Regions from separate parts of the Homo sapiens genome. Here regions 1, 2, 3, 4, 5 and 6 are each linked to region 7. Evidence: promoter capture Hi-C in 16 types of primary human blood cells and fetal thymus (Javierre and others, 2016). All regions are on one chromosome and are shown on one strand. The core of a region is centred on a gene start or on the middle of the fragment in contact, and the rest is flanking DNA. Distances in the headings are between cores, read along the strand shown. Region 1 overlaps CYLD (CYLD lysine 63 deubiquitinase). Region 2 overlaps NOD2 (nucleotide binding oligomerization domain containing 2). Region 3 overlaps CNEP1R1 (CTD nuclear envelope phosphatase 1 regulatory subunit 1). Region 4 has its middle 31 kb from the start of CNEP1R1. Region 5 has its middle 12 kb from the start of CNEP1R1. Region 6 overlaps CYLD (CYLD lysine 63 deubiquitinase). Region 7 holds the start of BRD7 (bromodomain containing 7).

Evidence for each region. Contacts are between HindIII fragments. The CHiCAGO score rates a contact against its expected background, and 5 or more counts as called.
Region 1: a fragment that was not itself captured here is called in contact with the fragment with the promoter of BRD7 in region 7 in 17 of 17 cell types (activated CD4 T cells, naive CD4 T cells, naive CD8 T cells and 14 more); the score reaches 68.0 in activated CD4 T cells.
Region 2: a contact is called between a fragment that was not itself captured here and the fragment with the promoter of BRD7 in region 7, in 16 of 17 cell types (naive CD8 T cells, naive CD4 T cells, total CD8 T cells and 13 more). The highest score is 56.3, in naive CD8 T cells.
Region 3: a fragment that was not itself captured here is called in contact with the fragment with the promoter of BRD7 in region 7 in 13 of 17 cell types (neutrophils, naive CD8 T cells, activated CD4 T cells and 10 more); the score reaches 21.1 in neutrophils.
Region 4: a fragment that was not itself captured here is called in contact with the fragment with the promoter of BRD7 in region 7 in 2 of 17 cell types (neutrophils and monocytes); the score reaches 10.9 in neutrophils.
Region 5: a fragment that was not itself captured here is called in contact with the fragment with the promoter of BRD7 in region 7 in 16 of 17 cell types (neutrophils, monocytes, M2 macrophages and 13 more); the score reaches 34.2 in neutrophils.
Region 6: a contact is called between a fragment that was not itself captured here and the fragment with the promoter of BRD7 in region 7, in 16 of 17 cell types (total CD4 T cells, non-activated CD4 T cells, activated CD4 T cells and 13 more). The highest score is 61.6, in total CD4 T cells.

Annotation. Positions count from the first base shown.
Region 1 is chr16:50,749,135-50,752,490 of GRCh38, reverse strand. CYLD (CYLD lysine 63 deubiquitinase) reads right to left here. Exons shown (of 19, transcript NM_001378743.1): 3 at 2,289-2,915; 4 at 585-887. The coding sequence starts at 2,792. Among named protein-coding and RNA genes, the nearest start is that of CYLD-AS1, 8.1 kb to the right of the region's middle. The HindIII fragment of the contact is 1,396 bases long and covers 615-2,010 here.
Region 2 is chr16:50,732,237-50,735,627 of GRCh38, reverse strand. It overlaps NOD2 (nucleotide binding oligomerization domain containing 2), which reads right to left. Exons shown (of 12, transcript NM_001370466.1): 12 at 2,553-3,391. It overlaps CYLD-AS1 (CYLD antisense RNA 1), which reads left to right. Exons shown (of 7, transcript NR_184279.1): 4 at 3,268-3,391. Among named protein-coding and RNA genes, the nearest start is that of CYLD, 8.2 kb to the left of the region's middle. RefSeq lists a silencer at 1,816-2,110. The HindIII fragment of the contact is 5,332 bases long and covers 1-3,391 here.
Region 3 is chr16:50,031,019-50,034,693 of GRCh38, reverse strand. It overlaps CNEP1R1 (CTD nuclear envelope phosphatase 1 regulatory subunit 1), which reads right to left. Exons shown (of 6, transcript NM_001281789.2): 4 at 1,188-1,297; 5 at 538-592. Among named protein-coding and RNA genes, the nearest start is that of CNEP1R1, 7.6 kb to the right of the region's middle. The HindIII fragment of the contact is 870 bases long and covers 1,123-1,992 here.
Region 4 is chr16:49,992,726-49,996,069 of GRCh38, reverse strand. No RefSeq gene overlaps it. Among named protein-coding and RNA genes, the nearest start is that of CNEP1R1, 31 kb to the left of the region's middle. The HindIII fragment of the contact is 5,462 bases long and covers 1-3,344 here.
Region 5 is chr16:50,011,409-50,015,168 of GRCh38, reverse strand. No RefSeq gene overlaps it. Among named protein-coding and RNA genes, the nearest start is that of CNEP1R1, 12 kb to the left of the region's middle. The HindIII fragment of the contact is 3,211 bases long and covers 153-3,363 here.
Region 6 is chr16:50,767,939-50,771,356 of GRCh38, reverse strand. The region is part of intron 5 of CYLD (CYLD lysine 63 deubiquitinase); the gene reads right to left. Among named protein-coding and RNA genes, the nearest start is that of CYLD-AS1, 27 kb to the right of the region's middle. The HindIII fragment of the contact is 2,515 bases long and covers 353-2,867 here.
Region 7 is chr16:50,367,374-50,370,787 of GRCh38, reverse strand. It overlaps BRD7 (bromodomain containing 7), which reads left to right and starts at 1,800. Exons shown (of 17, transcript NM_013263.5): 1 at 1,800-2,062; 2 at 2,490-2,698. The coding sequence starts at 2,014. RefSeq lists silencers at 1,622-1,871, 1,902-2,411. The HindIII fragment of the contact is 8,339 bases long and covers 892-3,414 here.

The sequences.
Region 1 (3,356 bases), core at 63-2,562, 380 kb before region 7:
GAATGAAATCCTATGAGATATTCTGATTGTCTATTCCTCAAAATCAATGTGGTTTTCCTCTACTCAGGTATTTTCTATAAATGATTATTATACTAATTATTAAAATCAGATCAGCCATTAAATTGTGTAGAATATCACAAAAAAATGGAGTACCCCAAAAAACTGTTTCAAAATAAAGAAAAATAGGACTTCAAGTAATATAATTGTGTTTTGTCTTGTTTTGTTTTGTCTACTGGTCAGCTACAATAAGGCAAATTTAAAGATAGAGAACATTATTCTAGTTTATTCAAATGGGAAAAAAAAGTAAATGTAATCTGTATCTAGACCCCTGTTCTATTTCAATGCTCCTTTACCAAAGATAAATTAGAACATGTTCTTTAAAGTACTCCAAATTAGATCATGTTAAATATTCAAAGTGTTCAATTTGCAAGTAAATTGGTCCTAAAACTAATACATATATATATAAACTATACATATATATGTGTGTATATATATGTGTGTATATATATGTTTATATATATATATACATATATATATAAACTAATATATATATCACAAAGATATTTAATCCAAAATTTTCTTACCATGTCCACACCAACAAAATATCCTAAGCTTTCTTTTCCTGGCAAAACATCACAGAATATAACTGTTCCAGATTCTATTGTTTCTCCAACCTTCAAAGAAACTCTGGAGTTTATTTCCAAAGGAGGAAGTTCGACCTGCATTGTGTCCCCAGGACCTGCGTAATCACTTTCCAATGCAGTGTCATCATCTTCTATGAGTTCTAGCTTGTCCAATGCAACAAACACGCCACAATCTTCATCACACTGAAAAAGCTGTTTCCCTTGGTACACCCCGTCAGTGAAACCTTGACCACGACCTTCTTCCTAGTTTTTAAGAGAGAAGGGAAAGAAATAGATATAGAAAGACGATCCATAGGAAAAGGGGTTCACTCTAGGGATTTCAGGAAAATCACTCTGGAAAATTTCTAAATGATACATATAATAAGAAATACAATTATTAGCAGTTTCTGTTGGATTTAGAGTGTTTTAAAAAATAAGAAGTTGTATCTGATGCTGAAATAATATTATCTGATAATTTCAATTCATAACTCTATCATGAGAAAGCTAGGCTGAATTCCACGTTGTGATTCTAACATTAATTTGGTTATAAAAAGAAAATGTTACTTTAAAATAGCAGTAATGTTAGCTCCATTCATTAAGCACTTATTGTCAGTCACTGTGCTTAAATCCTGCATCAATGTACCACAAAAACACTACAAGTCATGTACTATTAACACCATTGTACAGGTAAGGATGCAGAATGAGAGAAGTTAAGTAGCTTTGTTAAGTAACCTGGCAACCCAGCTAGTAAATGGCTTAACTGGGATTCAAATTCCTAATTGTTTACAATCACTGCTTTTAAAAAAAATTAAATCAAGAAGCAAAGAAGACATGCAATTCTATTGGCAAGAGTGTCAAAATGTAATTGGCATTTCAGTTCTTGTGAATGAATATTAAGTTTGGAAACATATCACAGCATTCTTGGGTCTCCTTCCGGTAGAAATAAATTCTAAGGATTTTCACATATATTATCGGGGACAATTATAAGCAAGTTTAAATTTCTGCAACTTTTTTTTCAAAAATCTTATATCTAAATTGTTATTTAATAACATACATTAAGAAGAACTAAGAAACCTATAGATGATAACGCAAGGTAATTAACAATTTTTTATGTAACTATTTACAACTGGTAGCGTTCATGTTTAATACAGGCAATGTTAAAATTTCTAAAATATATATGTCTGCAATAGCCAGGTGAATCTCTTTGTATGTTCCTACCATAGTACATAGTTTTTTAAGTTTCGACATCATCTTTACATCTTCGCAATTCATCATTAAAAAGTAAACAAAAGAAATTAAATCAAGAAGCAAAGAAGGCATACAATTCTATTTGCAAGAATGTCAAAATATAATTGACATTTAAGTTCTCAAGAATGAATATTAAGCTTGGAAACATATCACAGAGTTCTTGGGTCTCTTTCCAACAGAAATAAACGCCAAGGTGATTTTCACACATATTATCAGTGACAACTATAAGCAAGTTTTGGATTATGGATTCAACCACAACATGGATTCATCAGCAAGGATGATGAATATTAAAAATTACAGAAGACTCTTGGGAAAATTTATTTCGTATTTAAGGAGAAAAATATGTATGTGCATACAAATACACAGACACACATGAACACAAACAAACACACTACTAAAATGGTTTATCAAACTTACCAGCAATTCAACTCCAAAGAATATTCCGGAGACTGTCCTCTCTGCTAACAGGGGTCCTCTGAAGCGTACAACTCCAGGAAATTTTTCTTCCCCAGATCTCAGCTGTACTTTCACAGGACAGCCCACGTCTATTTGGAGGCCTTTACTTAGTCTGTTTCTGTTTTTAAACAGGCTGAACCTCTCCTCACAATTGGTAATTGCCAAAAGTAACTCTGTGAACTTTTCATTTATCTCTACAACATCCTTTTCATCAACAAAGAGAACTGCATGAGGTTGCTCTAGAATTTTTAATCCAATCTGATTTTTCTTGCCTTTTGCAGAAGGAATCCTTGAATGCCCCACAGAACGATCTTGAATATACTGTCCTATACTTCCCTTCGGTACTTTAAGGAGCTTTTGTGTTTGTTTGTCTGTAACGCTGCATTCTTGAAGAAGCAAGTAAAAAATCCGCTCTTCCCAGTAGGGTGAAGTGACTTTTTCTTGGCTCCATAAGCCTGAACTCATTGTGATATTAACTTCAAAATACTAATTCAAAAAAGGGAAACTACTAATAACTTTGTCATAAAACCGCAAAAGATAAATTCAGTGGCAGTCCCAAAGCATGTTTTCAGCAACGTGGTGTCCATGCTGTAAAAAGAAAGGAAATCAAAATGCCTAGTGAAAAAGCAAAAATAAACTTTAGACTTCATTCTACATGACTGAAAATTAAGACTGAAGACTTTTAAAATTTTCATTTGACCAGTAAACACATACACACAAATGAAATATTTTCAAAAAATATCTAAAAGGGCTAAAAGACATACATACTGTATTACTTTTATCTACTGTAACTGTGCATATTTAATTAATGAAATCCAATTGTAAAGTACTTTCAAAGACAACACAATGTTTGCTTCCAAGACACTGAAATTTATAAAATCAGATTCTAGTAAAAACTTTTAAAGATTACCCTTATATACATATTCTAACTTTTTTTAATTTATTTTTATTTATTTGTTTTGAGACAGGGTCTCACTCTTGTTGCCCATGCTGGACTGCAGTGGCACAATCACAGTTCACTGTGGCCAA
Region 2 (3,391 bases), core at 801-3,300, 360 kb before region 7:
ACATATTCCTGTCCTATCTCCACCCAGAAGCAAACAAGATCTTCTTTAACTGTAAATTGGTTCACATCTCCCCTGCTTAGAACTTTCCAAGGCCTTGACATTATTCCAAGATCAAGACCAAACTCTTGACTGTGGCCAGTGAGACCTTTCCTGAACTGGTCCTACCTACCTCTGCAAACCCATCTAGTGACACCTTTCCCTTAGCTTGCCTCCAACATAGTGTATTAGTTTCCTATGGCTGCTGCAGGAAATGACACAAATTATCCCCTTATAGTCGTGGAAGCCAGAAGTCCAAAATGGGCTGGAGCCAAGGCAGGCAGGGCTATGCTGCTTGCAGAGGTTCTAGGGGAGAATCTATTTCTTGGTCTTCTTTGGCTTCTAGAGCTGCAATCCTTGGCTCATGGCGCCTTCCTCCACCTTCAGAGCCAGCAGTGTAGCATCTTACTTGGTGATCACATTTCTTTCTTCTCCAGTGTCATATTTCCCTTTGCTTTACATTGTCCTTTAAATTTCTCTTATAAGGAAACTGCGATTGCATTTAAGACCCACCCAGGTAATCCAAGATGATCTTCCCATCTCAAGACCCTTAACTGAATCCCACCTCCAAAGTCCCTTTTGCCAGGTAAGGCAACATTCCCAGGTCCCGGGGATTAGGATCTACATATGTTCGGGAGTGACTATTGAGCCTACCATGCATACCACGCTCCTTCCCTCACCAGGGTCTTTGTACCTCTTGTCCCCCATTACTAGAATGCTCCCTTCTTCCCTCTCACTCTTTGCTTGGCCATATCTTTCTCATTCTTGGGGACACAGCTTACCTGGCACCTCCTCAGACAACCTGTCTCGGACCAGCCCCTTAACAGCCTGAAGACTTTTTTTTTTTTTTTTTTGATACGGAGTCTTGCTCTGTTGCCCAGGCTAGAGTGCAGTAGTGTGATCTCAGCTCACTGCAACCTCTGCCTCCCGGGTTCAAGCAGTTCTCCTGCTTCAACCTCCCAAGTAGCTGGGATTACAGGCACCTGCTACCATGCCCGGCTAATTTTTGTATTTTTAGTAGAGACAGGGTTTCACCATGTTGGCCAGGCTGGTCTCGAACTCCCGACCGCAAGTGATCTGCCCACCTTGGCCTCCCAAAGTGCTGAGATTACAGGCATGAGCCACAGTGCCTGGATGAAGACTTTTTCATGTCTTTTTCAACTGACTTGTTTTCTGCCTGCCTCTCCCTCCACCCTCACCTAAGCACCTTGAGGACCATGTCTGTTTTGTCAATCCACTGGTCATCCTAATATAACTGGTTAATAAATCATTGCTGAATTTATTTATTTATTTATTTATGACAGTCTCGCTGTGTCGCCCAGGCTGGAGTGCAGTGGCATGATCTCAGCTCACTGCAACCTCCTCCTCCAAGATTCAAGCGATTCTCCTGCCTCTGCTTCCCAAGTAGCTGGGATTACAGGCGTGCGCTGCCACACCCAGCTAACTTTTTTTTTTCTTCTTCTATTTTTAGAGACAGGGTTTTGCCATGTTGGCCAGGCTGGTCTTGAACTTCTGACCTCAAGTGATCCAGCTGCCTCAGCCTCCCAAAGTGCTGAGATTACAGGCATGAGCCACCATGCCTGGCCTCATTGCTGAATGAATTTAAAGATGACAAACTGACAACCCAATACAGTGCTATGCAAATGGGCTGCTGTGTGTACTCCTCAGCGAAAGGAGACTCAACACCACCTTCCTCCTGATCTGCTGTATCAGAAACAATGGTCTGGGCAGAACAGGGCACCAATCACAAAGAAAACCCATAGACACACTCCCATGCAGGGTCCAGGGAGATGCCACACCACCGAGTCAGCCAGACGCAAAACCTTTCAAGGAAGTAGGATTTTACCTTGCTGGGTGACCACCTGATCCCTTGCTTATTAAACGCAGCTAAGCACTATTTTAACACAAGGCCTGCATGAGAGGCTGCTCGCTGTGGAGAGCCAGCCATAAGTAAACCTTCTCCATCCTTCTGTTAAAGACTCCTGGAGCCACTTTGAGGGAATCGAGGGGGGCCAAGGGGCCTTTTCACATGTGTTGCAGCCTTTTAGGCTGGGTACGGGGAGGCTCCTGCACAGCTGAAAACTTCACGGGGTTAAACTTTTCTAAACTGAAGCCAAAAGTGTTTTGATTGCCTGGCTATTTTCTAAGAATTGCTTTTGCCTTAAGCTATACATTATCGGGTTGAAAACATCATTTTCCTCCGCTTCAAGTAGAAAATTGTGCTTTAAAATTTGACAAGTTTTAGTAATATTTTTATTTTTTATTTTCTTTATTTATTTGAGATGGAGTTCCACTCTTGTTGCCCAGGCTGGAGGACAACGGTGTGATCTTGGCTCACTGCAACCTCCACTATTTTTAGTAGAGACAGGGTTTCTCCATGTTGGTCAGGTTGGTCTCAAACCCCCAACCTCAGGTGATCTGCCCACCTCGGCCTCCCAAAGTGCTGGGATTACAGGCGTGAGCCACTGTGCCCAGCCAGAATATTTTTAAATGTTTGGTCACAAGGAAGATGGCTGTTTTGACTCAACAGTTTATTCCCCTCTGATTATTTACAGCATAAAGTTCACGGCCATGTTGTCTATAAGAGTATAAACTTAAGACAGTAAAACAAAGTGACCTATAAATATTAACCAGTTTTCACACATCATAATGTTTAAAATAATAACATTTGCACAGCATCTGACAATTTACAAAGGCTTCAACATACATCATTTTGAATAATCCAGGAAGACATTTGCTTTGAAGGAACGGCCTAATTTTTTTTCCTGTAAACTTTCAATCCATAACTGTACATCCTAAAGCATTCTGGCACAAATGAAATGGAACTGCCTCTTGTGGGTCTATTTCAGAAGTCTGTTGTCAGAGTTCAGTTCACAGGCATCAACCAGAAGCCTAGTGAGGCCGTTTGAAATTCTGGCCCAGATTAATTTTTTAAAGCTGCATTTGGAGCTTTTTAAAGTCGAGCTGTTTCCAAAGGCTTAACTGAAGAGTAACTGATTTCACTGGAAATAAAAGTCCACATGTGATCCCAGCTGGAGTGTGGTCATATTTTTCTTGCAAACCTAGAATGTCTTGGGGAACAAACGGCTGTCACGTGTCCCCTTCCAAAAATGTCTTAAACACCGGAAAGGAGGGCAGGCTAAGGTGTAGCCCTTCCCACCCTGGGTGCCAGGGTTGGGGGTGCTGTAAGTGAAATATCAAAGCTGAGGTCACTAATATTCTGAATTTCAGCCTCAGAGGAAGGAGCGTGTGCAGGAGTCCAGGAGGAGGGGAGGAACCAGAGACGGGGAATGGCCTGGATGGATGAGTCGAGACATGGGGAAAGCTGCTTCCTGAATTATGTGTTCTGTGTACT
Region 3 (3,675 bases), core at 308-2,807, 340 kb after region 7:
CCTGGACTCAAGAGATCCTCCTGCCTCAGCTTCCCAAAATGCTGGGATTAGAGGCATGAGCCACCATGCCCAGTCTCCCATCATCTACTTTTAAAAACACAATAGGTTCATATGTCCATAGTCCACAAATTAATCTATGACTCTATATTTACAAATAACATATATAGCATATCACTTGATAAATAACAGTAGTTTATAAAACCAATATCCGCTGAGCCATTTTTGGTCAATAACAAACAACCACTGTACTTCACTGAATCTAAGATGCATCAGTTATAAGATGCATCATGATTTTATGTCATTAAGAAAGATTAAATTGTCAACTCTCCCAATTTGTCAGATCTCATTGACTGTAAGATGGATCTCAATGCCAAAGATGTTAAATGTAAAAGTACCTTAGAATCAATGCTCTAAGTATATTCTCACTATTCATTCCACAGAGAAAATTTATTGCTAATAAAATGTCTACCTTTCTAAAGCCAAAAATTTCAGTGTTTTCATGCAGGTCTATAATTTTCTAACCAAAAAAATACTTACATCATCACAAGACATATTGTATTCTGCTAATACCGTTCGACATCGAGCAGCTATACTGAATACATGTGGTCAAAGGAAAATTTCTCATTTCAAGAGTATGCTTTTAGGCCGGGTGCGGTGGCTCAAGCCTGTAATCCCAGCACTTTGGGAGGCCGAGGCGGTCGGATCACAAGGTCAGGAGATCGAGACCATCCTGGCTAATCCGAGATCGCGCCACTGCACTCCAGCCTGGGCGACAGAGCAAGACTCTGTCTCAAAAAAAAAACACAAAGCGTACTCTTTTTTTTTTTTTTGAGACGCAGTCTTGCTCTGTCGCCCAGGCTGGAGTGCAGTGGCGTGATTTCAGCTCACTGCAACCTCTGCCTCCCGGGTTCAAGCGATTCTCCCACCTCAGCCTCCCGAGTAGCTGGGACTACAGGCACAGACCACCACACCTGGCTAATTTTTTGTATTTTAGTAGAGATGGGGTTTCACCATGTTGCCCAGGCTGGTCTCAAACTCCTGAGCTCAGGAAATCCACCCACCTCAGCCTCCCAAAGTGCTGGGATTACAGGCGTGAGCCACCACGCCCGGCAAGAGTAAGCTTTTAACCATTACCTAGATCAACAAAGCACTTCAGAGAATGGAATTTAATCCTTGGTAAAGGATACATTGATGGTGCAACTACTCTCTTGTGTATTCCAGCAAAGAACAAGCCTATTAGAGTGATACAGCTAATGGTGAAAAATGGGTGATTCCATAATGATGTGAAGAAGGACACCTGTAAAAGAAGAGATGAAAATATAAAAATGTTAAAAATCTTAGGATGGCTGATTCCTACCTCCCCACTTGTACATAAATATATATAATATTTTTTATCATATAAACCATGAGGATTTGAAGACTTCTAATAATCTTAGTTCTCTGTATTGCTGCGTTGTAAAAATAAAAATGTATAGGCTATCTTCTATAAAGCAAGATAAATATAGCAGTATTCCCTCCATTCATTTCAAATACTTGAACTATTACAAATTCATTCCTATAATCAAAAAACAACCCTATCAAAAATATTTACTGAACTCTGCATTGAATGAGTGAAGATGAGGCCTCTGGTCTCAATGAAAACACAAATCAAACTTGATTTAGTTACCTTCCCTGTTTTTTTTTTTTTTGAGACAGAGTTTCACTCTTGTCACCCAGGCTGGAGTGCAATGACACATTCTCAGGTCACTGCAACCTCCACCTCCAGGATTCAAGCAATTCTCCTGCCTCACCCTCCCAAGTAGCTGGGATTACAGGCGCCCACCACCACACCCGGCTAATTTTTGTACTTTTAGTAGAGACGGGGTTTCACTATGTTGGCCAGGCTGGTCTTGAACTCTTGACCTCAGGTGATCTGCCCGCCTCGGCCTCCCAAAGTGCTGGGATTACAGGCGTGAACCACCACGCTCAGCCTACCTTTACTGTTAAAAAGCTTCCTTAAAAGAGTTGAGCAAACTCTGCCATTCATAACCTGATCCCAGTCTAATTTTCATCTCCTGCCATATTTCCACACATATGCTGCCTTGTTCACCTCTCTCCCTCCACCTGGCTAACTCTTACATATCCTCATAACACTCAATTCCAGCATCACCCCTTCCTCCCTGCAGAGGCAAAAAACAAATTTGGTTTTGAAGCTACTGAGATCTAAATGACCACAGGACATTCAAGTAGGGAAAAACGATTAGTAGCTATCCATAAAGAACTAGAACGAAGGAGAAAGAAAGGGCTGATTTCAGATCTGGACATATCAAATGATAGCAGAAAACAGGACAATCCACAAGTCTAAGAATATGTAGAGGGACAAGGGTCCAGGATCCATGACTGGAATAAGAATAGGCACCGAAATGGAAACGTTGACTGGAGACACAGAGAAGACAAGCATTTAGAGCCTGTGTAGAAAGAAATCAAGTGGATTAGTAACTAGATGGGAGCAAGAGAATCAAGTTAAGCACATCCCCACTCCACTCTCACAGCAGGAGACGCGCAGGCACGTGTTTCAAGACAGAAGCACCAGGTAGATGGCTCAGCATGGTACTGGTTACAGAAGTTTGTCAGATGAAGAAATGAGAGGCTGAAAATACCAGGAAAGAAGCTCCCAGAAAGATGATGACCCAAGGAAAAGTTAATATTCCAGAAGAACGTCTTCTTCAAACCTCCGAGGAGTTTCTCATAAGCCAGCTCTGTTGTGTGTGGCCTGCACCAGGTTAGCATATACAGTGCTTTATGTCTTCATTTTAATTAGGCCATCAGTTTCAGCCTTCCTCCCTCCATGGCAACACTCCAATGCATTGAAACAGCAGTTCTCTCCAGGCCAGGCAGTCAGGTACTTCCTGTCTGCCATATTCTTTCTCTCCCTAGGTTCTTCTACCTAGCCACTGCTCCTGAGTTTGCAACTCTTGCTACAGATACAATTGCTGGTTAAAACTCCTGTCAGGTTTGGGGTTATTAAATACTGAAATATAAAGAGCCAACCCTTAGGCGAATAGTTATATTCTCACCTAATTTAGAAAATTATATTAACTACATAGTTTTGGGCCTATTTCAAATTACATTTAATTCTGTGTTTTATTAAGATCTCAACTAGCTGAGATCAGCTTATATTTTTCCCAATTAGAAGTCAGACTCATTTCCCAAGATGGATCTTTTTCAATCTTCTTGCCAGCCTCTTTCCACTCTTCCCCTAAAGATGACTACCAAGTGCAGCCTTAAGATCAGATTTTTATAAATGAACACACAAGAGAGTTTCCTGTCTGCCATAAAAATCCTCTATTAACATAAAATTCCATCACCAATCTCCCCTTGCTTCCTATCCTTTTAAATATCTCCACCTCAGCAGATAAAGTTAGGGAGACTATATGCGAAATAAACTTCTCTGGCTGTCTGAATTGCCATGGAGACTGATGACAAAAGCCTTCTCTTAGGCTTTTCTTCTGTAAAACCTAAAAGGTACAAATAGAGCTACTGAAAGTAGTCTACTTAATTGCAGCTTAAAGCGGGGAGGGGATTTTTAAGATTTGTGAAAATTACATCATTACTCCCTAAATAAAACTGCACTGGGGGAAAGAAACTTCACTAAAAAATTGGAGACTAACTACTTCTCTAATAAAAAAAAGCCCT
Region 4 (3,344 bases), core at 162-2,661, 370 kb after region 7:
TCCTGTAGCAGTCTGCTTGCTCCTTGTGGCTGGGTGCCTCCTGCCAGTTCCTCCTGTCTGCTTTGGCACCTCTTGGCAGGGGAGAGGACTCTTGGGCCCAGCTAATGCTCACCCTGGCTGCTTAGTGTTGGTGGGACTTCCAATCTGTCCCCCTGCTGGTAGTGTTGGACTACCCTGATGTTGTCAGAGGTCCTGTTCAATTTGGGGGAGAAATGACCATATCTGGGCTGGTTTCTGTAACAACAGTGTGGGTTGGGAAATGCCAGGTCTGGATTGGGTTTGGGGGGAACATAAGATGCCCTCCTGCTTTGTTGTTCTTCCAGTCTTGGGGACCCAGACCAGTTTGCCTTCTTCTTACTGTCTTTCAGAGTTCTCTCTTGGTTGCCTTTTGCATTGCTTCCAGGGTTTATAGTTTTGCTTTGAGGGGAGGAGCAGGGAGAAACTGTTCTGTGCCACCTTGACCCACCAGGTACTTTGAGCACTGGCGCAGTGGTGAAGTTCCAGGGTACCCATTCCTGGATTCATGTCTCTCAGCTGGAATAACACAGAGTTTCATCCTCTGCCAATTAGACAGCCATTGGAAGATGCTCAGAGTCCTTTAGAAACAGACAGTAACAGGAAGAAAAACAGCTACACGAGACTATGAGATCAAGTAGATGACATGCGAAATAGACAGCTTCTGCTCCAAATTCCAAATCAAAACCTCACCTTGCTTTTCTTTTTTTTGCCTTTTAAATCTTCTTTGATATAGTCTAGTTACTCTGCTCTCCATTCTTTGCTCATTTACTTGAATATAAAGAAGGAGATAATTTTTTTTAAGAGATAGGGTTTCACCCTGTCACCCAGGCTGGAGTGCAGTGGTGCAATCATAGTTCACTGCAGCCTTGAACTCCTGGGCTTAAGCGATCCTCCTGTCTCAGCCTCTCAAGTAGCTGGGACTACAGGTGCACATCACCACATTTGGCTAATTTTTTAATTTTTTGTAGAGACAGGGTCTTAATATGTTGCCCAGATTGGTCTCAAGCTCTTGGCCTCAAGTGATCTTCCTGGCTTGACCTCCCAAAGTGCTGGGATTACAGATGTGAGCTACAGTGCCTGGCCAATAATTGCTTTTGTTAACTTTTTTTTCTAGATTTATGAATTTTGTTGCTTATTTCTGGGTATGATATTAATAGGTGGTTATATATGGCTCATTCAATAGTCAATGTTCAAAGGAAAAAATGATTGCTATGTATGTTTCCAGCTTTGTAGGCTGGTCACCTCATTATTCCCCATTCCATATCCTGAACAAGTGGAACACCCTTTCAGAGACAAGAACATGGGAAAAAGCCTTCCTTAAAAACTTTTCTGAAAATTGCTATAATCATAGACCCAAGGAACAGCCTAATTCACCTTATGATGTGGTTCCCAAGAAAGGAGAAAGAAAGTGTCTAGGAAGACTAGACCCAATCTTGAGACCCAAAGGTGAGACTGGCAAGGGCAGGAGAAGTCACATGTAGTTCTCTGTGCTGGAAGGAAAGTTCCACTGGATATAACCAGCCAATCCATGCTGCCTGCTTCTCCTTGGTTCCTCTTCTTTCTTTAGCTCAGAAGAAGGAACTCCTTATTTTCCAAGTAATCCCAGCATGGAGAATTTAAGATGGCTGTAAATTCTTTAACATTCCTTATATCACAGGGTCTAAGACCCCTTCTCTTGAATGAGGGTTCTCTTTGCTATTGCTTGGATCTATAGAATACAGCAAAAATGATGCTGTGTGTAGTAAGATAAGGCTGTAAACCAGTAAGAACTGATTCTTTTGCTTTAGGGAATTCATCCAAGCCAATTTATCTGGACAGTTTGCTGAACGAGCTCTCCCATCTGGGTAACAGATTGCTCATCTGGGAAAACAGCTTGCCTATCAAACAGCAGTTTCACTGATTGAGACTGGTTTTAAGACCCTTGCCTTGATGTGTTCACCAATCCTAAAGTATCATGTCATGAAATGTGCCCAATCCCAATCAATTTCTGTCTTGAAAGACCTTCTTTGAACCACTTGAGCCCAGATCCCAATAATATACATTTCCTTTCCTCGCCTTCCCCTTTCTAAAATACTATGAAGATTGTCAAGATGGTGGTCTCCATGACTGCAGAACATCTAACAAAGTTAGCTTTGCTTGATGGCTTGTTTTTTGGTTTTTTGATGGTCTTTTGAGGAGCTGACAGGCTATGAGGTAAGCATTGTTTTGTAAAACTTGAGTTTCAGTTTTATACTGATGTGTCTGTGTCTGTGTGTGTACTGAGAAATGATGTAAAATGAATCTCAGCTGTGGGTGATAAGCTGTGTTGTTTCATTGTTGTCTTCTCATACTAGAATGTAAGCTGATGACCACAGAAATTTTATCCTCTCCGCCATACCCCCAATGTTTTGAACAATTTCTGGCACACAAATGTCTTTCTCTCTCTCTCTCTCTCTTTTTTTTCTTTGAGATGGAGTTTCACTCTTATTGCCCAGGCTGGAGTCCAATGGCATGATCTCGATTCACTGCAACCTCTGCCTCCCAGGTTCAAGCAATTCTTCTGCCTCAGCCTCCTGTGTAGCTGGGAATACAGGCACCTGCCCCCATGCCCAGCTGAATTCTGTATTTTTGGTAGAGATAGGGTTTTGCCATGTTGGCCAGGCTGGTCTCGAACTCCTGACCTCAGGTGATCCACCCGCCTCGGCCTCCCAAAGTGCTGGGATTACAGGCATGAATAACCACCACATCTGGCTTCTTTTTTTTTTTTTTTGAGACAGGGTCTTACTCTGTCACCCAGGCTGGAGTAGTGAGGCAATCCTAGCTCACTGCAGCCTTGACTTCTGCAGCCCCTGCACCCCTACCACCTCACAAAGGGGGAGTTTGGGGAGGCCCAGGGGCACCTCAGATCCTCAGTTTTCCTACTCCTTGTGGGCCTCAGTTTCCCTAGATGAGAAACGGGCATGTTGACCCCAGAACTCAGGGAGATCCAGCAGCTGCTCAGGGTCCCTCCGGCCTCCCCTGCGGCCTGCGGGCTTGTCCGCTTGATTTCCCATCTTGGCACGTGCTCCCCACGTGTAGGCTGGTGCCATCTGGGTCAGCCCTTGGGAGAATGTGGCTGCCTCCATTCCTAACCTCCTTCAATATTTATGGAGGCAGTGAATTTGGGGATTATACCCGGCTTCTGGAGTCAGACCTAGATGTGAATCTGGTTGGACCACTGCTGAGCTGTGTGACCCAGGGCAAGGCACTTTACCTCCTTGTGCATCTGTTTTCTCATCCCTAAAATGGGGATAATAACAGAACGTACCTGTAGGACTTTTTGGTGGTTAAATGAGTTAATATGGATA
Region 5 (3,760 bases), core at 509-3,008, 360 kb after region 7:
AAAATGTGTCAAATTGCAACAAATGTTACCTATTCTTTCTTCACTTAGAGACAACTTGTTTAGCCCAATAGGCTCAGAAACAATTGGGGAAATTGTAATATTGGTGATATAAGATACATCTTTGCTAATGTTTTTTGAAAAATAGAAAAGCTTTTTATCTTATCACATATCTTAAATATATTTTCATCAAAACCTCAAAGGAGTCAATTTAGTTCATTTGATTTGGAGACACTATTCACCGTTTTCTTTAATGCACAAAGCCAGTTCTTATTGTCAAACTGATCAGTAAAATCAGACTTAATTTCTCTCAGAAACTTTACTTCACTTTTCAATGCAAATCCCTGTGAAAACTCAACATGTTTGTAAAAATTGTTTGTATTCAAAGCAATGCTTTACTCATTTTTTTTTTTTTTTAGACAGAGTCTCACTCTGTCACCCAGGCTGGAGGGCAGTGGTTCAATCTTGGCTCACTGTGACCTCCATCTCCCAGGTTCAAGCGATTCTCCTGCCTCAGCCTCCCAAGTAGCTGGGATTACAGGCACACGCCACCATGCCCAGCTTATTTTTGTATTTTTAGTAGAGATGGGGTTTCGCCATGTTGGCCAGGCTGGTCTCCAACTCCTGACCTCAGGTGATCCGCCTGCCTTGGCCTCCCAATGTGCTGGGATTACAGGCATGAGTCACCACACCAGACGTTTTTCTTCAGACAGGGTCGCATTCTGTCACCCAGACTGGAATTTAGTGAATTTAGTGGTGCGATCACAGCTCACTTCAGCCTCAGCCTCCTGGGCTCAAGGGATTCTCTTGCCTCAGGCTCCCAAGTGGCTGGGACCACAGGCGGGTGCCACCACACCTGGCTAATTTCTAAATTATCTGTAGAGACGGGGCCTGCCTTTGTTGCCCAGGCTGGTCTCAAACTCCTGGGCTCCGGCCATCTTTGCCATGACCTCCCAAAGTGCTGGGATTACAGGCATGAGCCACCATGTCCAGCCAGTGCTTCACTCTTAACTGAGAATCTAAACAGGACAAGAAAGCCAAGAGTGCAGGATGGATTTATTGCTCATGGTTTGAGGAGACTTCAAGCGTGTCCTTATTTTGAATAAGATGTCCTTCTTGTTCCTGCAGCCAGTGCTGTCTTCCATGCACCTGGGCACCGCCCCATTGTAACTCAGCGGGGCGAGAGGTGGGCCTTTCTTCTGTAGACTGGGGTTAAGGGCGATGGTGAAGCAGGGGAGGGAAGGAGGACCAGGTCTTGAAGCAGGACAACTGGGAATTCTTGCCCTCGAGAGTCTCCCTCCCTTCTTCCTCAGTCTGGGGGTCAGAGGAGGCTTCTTAGAGGACATGGGGCTCAAGTTGATTCTCCCCAGACCTGCTCTTTATCCATGGTCACCATTTTAGTAAATGGCCCCGTGTCCACCCACTATTTGCTCAGGCAAGAACTGGGGATCATCCTTGAGTCCCCTTCTTAATCTCACATCCATTACCCAATCCATCAGCTCTGTCACCTTACTTCCAGAATGGATCCCAAATCCAGTCATCTCTCACCCTTACCATGGTCACCCAAGTCCTGGCCATCAACACAGTTGCCTGGAAGGTTGCAAGCGTCTCATCGCTATCTCCCTGCTTCACCTCTTGCTCTCCTTCTGGTCCTCCTTGGTACAGTAACCAGAGAGGGCCTGTCCCTCCTTATCTAACACCTCCTCATTGCTTTCCTTTGCACTTAAAATAAAATCTGAGGAATATTCCACCTTGTAGGGTGACCAACTTGTCCCAGGCAAACCACGACAGTTGGGCGCCCTACACAAGACCCTGTAGGCTTGGACATTGCCTACCTCTGCAGATGCTTCTCACAGGTCTCCCCCACCCACATCCCACCTCTACCCTCACTCCCCGCACTCTCCCAGGCTTACTTGGCTCCAGCCCCATTGGATCCTTCAAAGAGCCATGCTTGTTTTAGGATTTTTGCATTTGCTACCTCTTCTCACTGGAACTCTCCTGCCCTGGCTTGCTCTTGCAATGTCAGGCTTCAGCTCAATGCCCTTTCTGCAAAGAGGACTTGGATCACTCCAGCTTAAGTACTTCTCTTTTTCTCTTTCTCTCTCTCTCTCTTTTTTTCTTTTTTTTTTTGAGACAGAGTCTTGCTCTGTTGCCAGTCAGAAGTGCAGTGGTGCAATCTTGGCTCGCTGCAACCTCCACCTCCTGGGTTCAAGCGATTCTCCTGTCTCAGCTTCCTGAGTAGCTGGGATTACAGGCACGTGCCACCATGCCCGGCTCATTTTTGTATTTTTAGTAGAGATGGGGTTTCACCTTGTTGGCCAGGTTGGTCTTGAACTCATGACCTCAAGTGATCCACCCACCTCAGCCTCCCAAAGTGCTGGGATTACACCCCTCCCCCAGCCATAAGTATTCCTCTGCCATCACCATCTGGACCACTGCATCCTGCTTACTCGCTGTGCAGTTTGAAGCTCTCTGTGCTTTACTTTCTTACCCGTGACTGAGGCAGGTGCTGTCCTCAAAGAACTGCAGAAGGGATCCTGTGAGATAATTCTTGCCAAGCCCTTGGATCACTGCTGGAACATAGAAAGTGCTCCATACATATGGTCATAATTACCCTGTTCTGTTTTCTTTCTAGCACCTGTCAATATGTGACAATTGTATTTATTGATATTTCTTCCATGTTTATTGTCTGTCTCTCCAACTAGAATGTGAGCTGCATTAGGGCAAAGACCTATTTTGCTTTCCTCAGTGACTATAACCATGCCTGACACATATCAGGAACTCAAGGTGTGCGTTCAGAGAATGAAACTTAATGGTTGCGCAGCACTGTGAATGTACATGTACCACTGAATTGCATGTGTAAAAATGGCTAAAATGTTGAAATTATGCTATATATGTATTTTAAGGTTGTGTATATTTACCCCCATGAAAAAGCACACTGATGTCCCATAATAAATATTTAACAACTTTCCTAGGTTAAAGCAAAGTGAAAGAAGCTAAGTCTGGGTACTCTTGGAGGAATTAGCTGCTCAGAGAGGGCGCAGCCTGGCCTTGTGGCTTTCTGGGACTCGTTTTACATAACACCCCTTCTCTTCATGACCTCTCATTGGTGTGCACACCTTCCTGAGGAGGTCAGGGGAGGTGGGGACTGGAAATCCCAGGAGACCCTGCCAAGGCTGAAGTGCTCTGTCCAGGTGTGTCCACAGCAGGCGGAGCTCCACACATCTGGTGTTGTCACTCTTCCACTGTGGTGTCTTTGCAGCTGATCAGTGCTGTGCCAGTTGACAGCTGTGTGATCTCAGGCAAGTTACGCAACCCTCCTGTGCTTCAGTTCTTCCTCTGTGGAGTGAAATAGCAAGAGAAGCTTTCTCATAGGATGACTGTGAGGATTGAATGGATAGTGTCTGCAAAGTGTTTAGAAAAGTGCCTGGCCTACACCCACAAGTGCTATATAAATATTAGCTATTATTATTAATATTTTTGGCCTGGAGTTGGTGGTTCATACCTGTAATCCCAGCACTTTGTGAGGCTGAGGCAGGAGGATTGCTTGAACCCAGGAGTTCACGACCAGCCTGGGCAATATAGTGAGACCCCTTCTCTATCAAAAAATCAATGTTTGTATTACCCATTCAGTTGCTTAAGCCAAAAATTTAGGAGTTATACATGCCCTTCCTTTCTCCCCATTTCCATCAGCAAATCCATTCTTCAAAATGTATCTTAACTTCTTTCACTTTTTCTCCTAAATGTTCTCAAGTTTTGCCTT
Region 6 (3,418 bases), core at 361-2,860, 400 kb before region 7:
CATAAAGAAGGTTAGAGTACTGATTTTGCTATCATACGGATGAACCTTGAAAAGATTATGCTTAACTGAAGAAGCCAGACACAAAAGCCACATATCTTTTATTCTATTTATGTGAAATGTCCAGAATAGGCAAATCTGTAGAGATAGAAAGCAGATCAGTGGTTGTCAGGGTCTCAGGGTAAGAGACAATGGGAAGTAACTGCTTAATGGGTACTGGGTTCCCATGAAAATGTTCTGGAACTGGATAGTGGTGAGGGTTGCACAACATATTACATTTCAATTTTTAAAAACTTAGGAGAAAATCTTCCATATGTAGAGCTAAACAAAAGTTGTCGAACTTGACACAAAAGCTTGACCCACACAAGAAAAACTATAAATTGGACTTCATAAAAATAAAAATCTTGTACTCTGTGAAAGACCCTATTAAGAGGATGAAAAGACAAGCTACACATTGGGAAATAAAATGTGCAAACCATATATTGAACAAAGAATTAGTATCTAGAATACATAAAGACTTCTCAAAACTCAACAGTAAAAAAGCACAGGATCCAATGAGAACCTGGGCAAAAGAGATGAGGACACCTTTCACTCAAGAATATATACGAAGGCTGGGTGCAGGGGCTCATGCCTGTAATCCCAGCACTTTGGGAAGCCGAGGCAGGTGGATCACTTGAGGTCAGGAGTTCGAGACCAGCCTGGCCAACATGGTGAAACCCTCTCTCTACTAAGAACACAAAAATTAGCTGGGCTCGGGGGCGCACACCTGTAATCCCAGCTACTTGGGAGGCTGAGGCAGGAGAATCACTTGAACCCAGGAGGTGGAGGTTACAGTGAGCCGAGATCACGCCACTATACTCCAGCCTGGGTGAACAGAGCAAGACTCCATCTCAAAAAAAAAAAAAAGAAAGAAAGAAAAAGAATATATACAGATGACAGTGAGTACACGGAACGATGTTCAACATCAGCAGCCATCAGGTAAATTCAAATCAAAATCACAGTGAAATACAACTACAAATCTCTCTGAATGGCTAAAATTAAAAATAGGGACAACATCAAATGCTGGAAAGGATACAGAGAAACCAGATTACCCATATATTGCCAGTGGTAAAGTAAGAGTACAGTCACTCTGGAAAACAGTTTAGCGGTTTCTTAAGAAACTAAATTTGCAAATATCACCGAATACGCACTTGGACAATTATGTCAAGAAATAAAGATTTATGTGCACTCAGGAAACTACACACAAATATTTATAAAAGCATTATTCATAATAGCCAAAAACTGGAAACAAACCAGATGTCCTTCAACAGCTAAACAGTTAAACAAACTGATACATCCATAATATGGAATATTACTCAGGAATAAACAGGAACAATCCATGGATATATATAAAATAATGTAGATAAATCTCCAGAGAATTATGCTCAGTGAAAAAAGAGCCAGTCTCAAAAGGTTACATACTGTACAACTCCATTTATGTAACATTCTTGAAATGACTGAATTACAGAAATCGACAGCAGATGAGTGGTTGTCAGAGGTTAAGGATGGGGCAGGAGGAAGAGGGAATTTGTGCGGCAGTAAAAGGGCAAGATAAGAGATCTTTGTGGGATGGGAATGTTCTGCTTCTTGATTGTATCAGGGTCAACATTCTGGTTGTGATGTTGCACACGTCTTGTTTTACAACATGTTAATGTTACCGCTGGGAAAAATTGGCTAAAGGGCACACAGGGTCCCTCTCTCTGCATGTGAATCTATAATAATCTGAAATGCTGTAAAGCATATATCTGCAAAAGGGTTTGTATTCAAAATTTATAAATAACTCTCAAAACCCAATCATAAAGAAACAATTAATAATCGGCCAAAGACTTTCACAGATACTAAACCAAAGAAGATATACAGATGACAAATATGCACATGGAAAGATGTTTGATATCACTGGTCACCAATGAAGCGCAGAGTAAAACCACAATTAGATGTTACTAAAATTTAAAAAACTGATCATACCAAGTGTTGGCAAAGATATGGAAGAACTGTATCTCTCATATACTGCTTCTGGGAATGTAAAATAATGCAACCACTTTGGAAACACAGCTTGGAAGGTTTGGGGGTTTTATTTAAGTTAACAGTCACCTATGATATTACCAGCCATTCCACATCTAGGTAAGTACCCAAGTGAAATGAAGGCATATGTCCATACAAAGATTCGTACACAAATTTTCATAGCAGCATTATTCATAATAGCCAAAAACTGAAAAAAACTCAAGTGTCCATCAACAAGTGAATGGATATAGAAACTAATATAACCATATCAACAATAAAAAGGACAACATGGATGAATAAAAAATAATTATGTCGAGTGAAATAAGCCAGACAAAAAAGAATGCATTCTGAGTTATTCCACTTTTGTAAAATCCTTAAAAATGTGAACAAGTGTATACTGATGTAAAGAAGACCAGTGGTTGTCTGAATGTAGGGGGTTGAGAGGACAGGAAGAGGCAGAGGGAGGGATCCCAAGGGACATATTTTGGGGTGATGGATATGTTCACTATCTTGATCGTAGAGATCGTCAAAAAAACAGCATTATACTCCCAACCCCCACAACTAGAACAGAAGACACAGGTTGAACTAGAAAAACCGAAATGTATAATTTTGGGGTGGTGCTAATTGATATGCTTCATCATAACAACTTCAAGAACATGAACATAATGTCAAATTAGATATGTTAGCAGTGTTTTTAACCATTTAGAACAGAAATATAAGAGAGAAACAATTTTATAACAGGTTTAAGATTCCTGCATCTTTCAATCAAAGGTATCCTTCAGAAGCCAACTATTACAAGCAATTGACTAGAAAGAATTCTTTCCTAAGCTTCCCAGCCATTCAACTGCTCTGAAAAGAATCTTTTTTCTTTTTTAAATGCTGTAAATATTAATTTTGTTTCACGGATGAAGGTAATTGGGCAAGAAAAAGAAACTAAGGAACTAAAGGAGACACTTTGACTTTTTTTTCCCCTCAAGAAAAGAGTCCTAATGATGACATGAAAGGCAGATGAAGACTCATTTAAGTAAACTAAATTAATTTTCATTTAAACAACTTTAGTTTTTAAAGTCTATTTGCAAGCTTTATTTTGTTGACAAATAAGTGTAATTTATGTATTATGTTATAAATGCTGGTATCATTCTTAATTATCTCCTATTGAGGGTTTATGAAAATCAAGCTTTAAAAGAAAAAAAAATATCATTCTTTTTCTTTCTCTTCACTGCTCTGAGCCAGCAATAATGACAATGATAACTACTGATTTAGAAGATCAAAGTGTGCCTGACAAGTGACGCCCAAGATATTCATGTAACTAATTTTAATTATCTCAATCCTCCACCAATATTTTAATAAAACAAAACCGTAAATGTTTTTAAGATAAATA
Region 7 (3,414 bases), core at 551-3,050:
ACCACTTTGTGACCTATGTAGAATCACTCTTGAGAGGGTAGGGAAATTACTAACTTGATAGTATGGATGAGTTCACCAGACCTTTTTCCTCTGAGGGGCATTTGGACAGTAGTAGTCACTGTGCTAGGCACTGTAAGTACCAAGGAGGTACCCAGGGTAATGAGGAGCAGACAGGTAAACCCACAGGTTGAGCCTGGAGCAAGGCAATGCCACAATAGAGGCCAGACCCACAGTGGGAGTTGGCATAGTGGTTCTTAAAGCAAAATAAGTTACAGACAGTGGATGAAAAGCTGAAACCAAGCTTTGCCCTATGCTTAGGGGGCCTAGGGGGCCTAGCTGGCTTGATTTCAGAGCAGCAGAAGGTCTCTTCCCCAACACAACCCCTCTTCCCACACCCTGATCTCTGCCTCACGGACACCAGAGAGGCTTGTTACAGGGAAATAATAGACACACACTTTTAGCTTTCATGAAAAAGCAACTCTCTTCATTAGAAGAACCTCATCTTCCCTGGCTAACCATAGAAGTCTGGCAGGAGCTGCCAATCACAGACTCCACTTCTCTTGGCCAAGGGGGTGAGGGGGTAGATTTGGCATCCAGGCCGAATCAATCTCCCATCCCCTGTCCCATAAAACATGTGACACAAGCCAAGCCAATCAGAGTCCTTCCCTGGGACTGTTTTCCAGGTGAAGCTGACAGGAAGAGATCTTTTTCCCAGTTGGTCAGGACACTATAAAGAAGAGGCCTCAGAAGCAGATGGTGGCCATGTTTCCAGCCATATAGGAAAGAAGGGGGGAGATGGAGACCGATATACAGAGAGACAAGAGAGAGAGCGAGCTGGCATGCCAGTCAACAGCATTACATCCTTGGTTCCTGTCTTCCCTCTGGCAAGCTTTATTCTTGCCCTTTCTAGACATGTAAACCAATAAATCCCTTTTTATTTACTTGAAATAATTCAAATTGGTTTCTATTAGTTGCCAACAATAGGGTCCTAAAATATAAGCCTATAATTTCACCACTGAAGTTCAAGGTAAAGCTACAAATCTTCCTGGGAGAGGTGATTCATGGGTCTAAATTGTTACTAAAGTATAAATGACTGATAACAGATCCTTTCTTAAGAGGAGACTATAATTACGAGCTTATCTGAAAACAGACAAAGCACCATACAGCTAGAAGTAAAGACAGTCAAAACGTCTGGTAACCTTCACCTATCAGCACATAAGTTTTTTTTAAGATTAGAATCTTCAGTCACCAATGTGCTGAGTTTGCTGGGTCTGGCACCCAGTATGGGGTTCAGTCAATATCGTAAAAGGGAAGAAACAGAAGCAAGGGAAAGTGGAAAGAAAGGAAGAGTGGGGGAAGGAGGAAGGGGAAAAAAAGAAAAGAAAAAAAGAGGGAAGGAGACGGGAAGAGGAGAAGGAAGGGTGATGAGGGAGGAAGAAAAGAGAGAAGGAAGGCTTGAAGGGAGGCAGTAAGGAGGGAAGAAAGAAAGGAAGGAAGGAGGAAGGAAGGGAAGAAGGGAAAGAGAAAGAAAGAGAGGGAGGGAGTAAAAAGAAGGGAGGGAAGTGGAGACGGAGGGAGAGACACACAGAGACAGAGACAAGACAGACAAATTGAGGGGAAAGGGAGGAAGGAAGAAAGACGAGAGTCTGAGCGGTGGATCCCGCCCCGGCCCCGCCCTCGGCCCCGCCCCCGGCCCGCGAGCTGCAGCACCACCTCCGGTCGCCAGGGGCCGCCACCCGCAGCCGCCGGCACCCTGTGCGCGCGGCGGGCCTTCTTTCCCGCCTCTGCGCCGGCCGCGCGCCCCCCCCGCCGCCGCTCTCGGGCTCCGGCCGGGTCTCGCGCGCCGTCTTCTCGAGAGGGGCATCGCGCCGCCCGGCGCGCGCCGCCCCCCTGCCTCGCGGCGCGGGGTCTCGCGGGCCCCGCTCCCGCCCTCCGCTCGCCTGGCCCGGACCGGAAGCGGCGCCGCACGGCCTGGGCCTGGCGCGGGGGGCGGGCACCGGGGCCCGGTCGGACATGGGCAAGAAGCACAAGAAGCACAAGTCGGACAAACACCTCTACGAGGGTGAGGAGGGGGCCGGGGTGCGGGCGGCGGGCCCTCGGCGGCTCTGCCGGGCTTCCGCTCTTTCCCAGTGGCTCCGGGGCGGCCCGGGGCCCTTCCTTCCCACGGCAGGCCCAGGCCGGCGAAGGGGGCGCGTCCTGCCGGAGGCCGCGCTGCCCCCCGTGCGGCCGCGGCATTCGAACCCGGGTCCCCCTGGTCCGGTGGGTCTCTGGTGGGGAGACGTGAGGCGGGCCCGGGAGGCCTGGGAGCGTTCGGGGCGGGCGGCGCCGCCGCACCCCCGGGCCGGGGTCCGTCATTCAACAGGTGCTTCGCGGAGCGCCCAAAGCCGCCTCGGGCTTGCTGCGCCTTGGCGCTCTGCATCCTTAGCACTCCCTGGAGAGCCCCGATTTTAATCGACGCGCTTTCCTTTCTTTTCTTTTCTTTTTTTAAGAGTATGTAGAGAAGCCCTTGAAGCTGGTCCTCAAAGTAGGAGGGAACGAAGTCACCGAACTCTCCACGGGCAGCTCGGGGCACGACTCCAGCCTCTTCGAAGACAAAAACGATCATGACAAACACAAGGACAGAAAGCGGAAAAAGAGAAAGAAAGGAGAGAAGCAGATTCCAGGGGAAGAAAAGGGGAGAAAACGGAGAAGAGTTAAGGTACAAGTGGTTACATTGCTTTGGCTTTGCGGACGGCACTGCCTCTTCCAGGTGCCAACCTCATTTTATTTTCTTTGTATCTGGGGAAAACAAACGCCTCTAAGATCTGGCTCGTTTGAGGAGGAGCAGGACAGAATAGAGACATGAATCATCTATGAGTTTCAGCAAGTCGTTTTTGGATTATACTCTTAGGCAATTGTACTCGCACATCAGGTGAGGAAGCAGCTAAGTCCAAATTTTGAGGAGCTGCTTCAAAGAATGGTTTTTCCATCTAGGCAGGGTAAAAAGTCATGCTCAAGAAAGCCTCAGTGTTCAAGGATTGTCAAAAATAGTCATTTCAGAAGCGAGTGGGATCTACTGGGGTTTAAAGTTTGTTCTGAAATAAATATTATAATGCCAAATCTGTAATGAGCAACTTTAAATCTTTTAAAACAGTGTTGTAGTGTGTTGAGAAAATTTGGTCAGAAACCTGTAATGGAGATTGATATTCTTAACCATTTGCATTTAACAGAAAAGAATGAGTAGCTACCATCTTGGTTTGAAAGCTGGGCAAAATAATAATTAATGGCTGGGCCCAGTAGCCCACACTTGTAATCCCAACACTTTGGAATGCCGAGGTGGGAGGATTGCTTGAGGCTGGAAGTTCGAGACCAGCCTGGGCAACATAGCAAGGCCCTGCCTCTGCAAAATAAACTACAAAAATTTCCAGAGCCTGG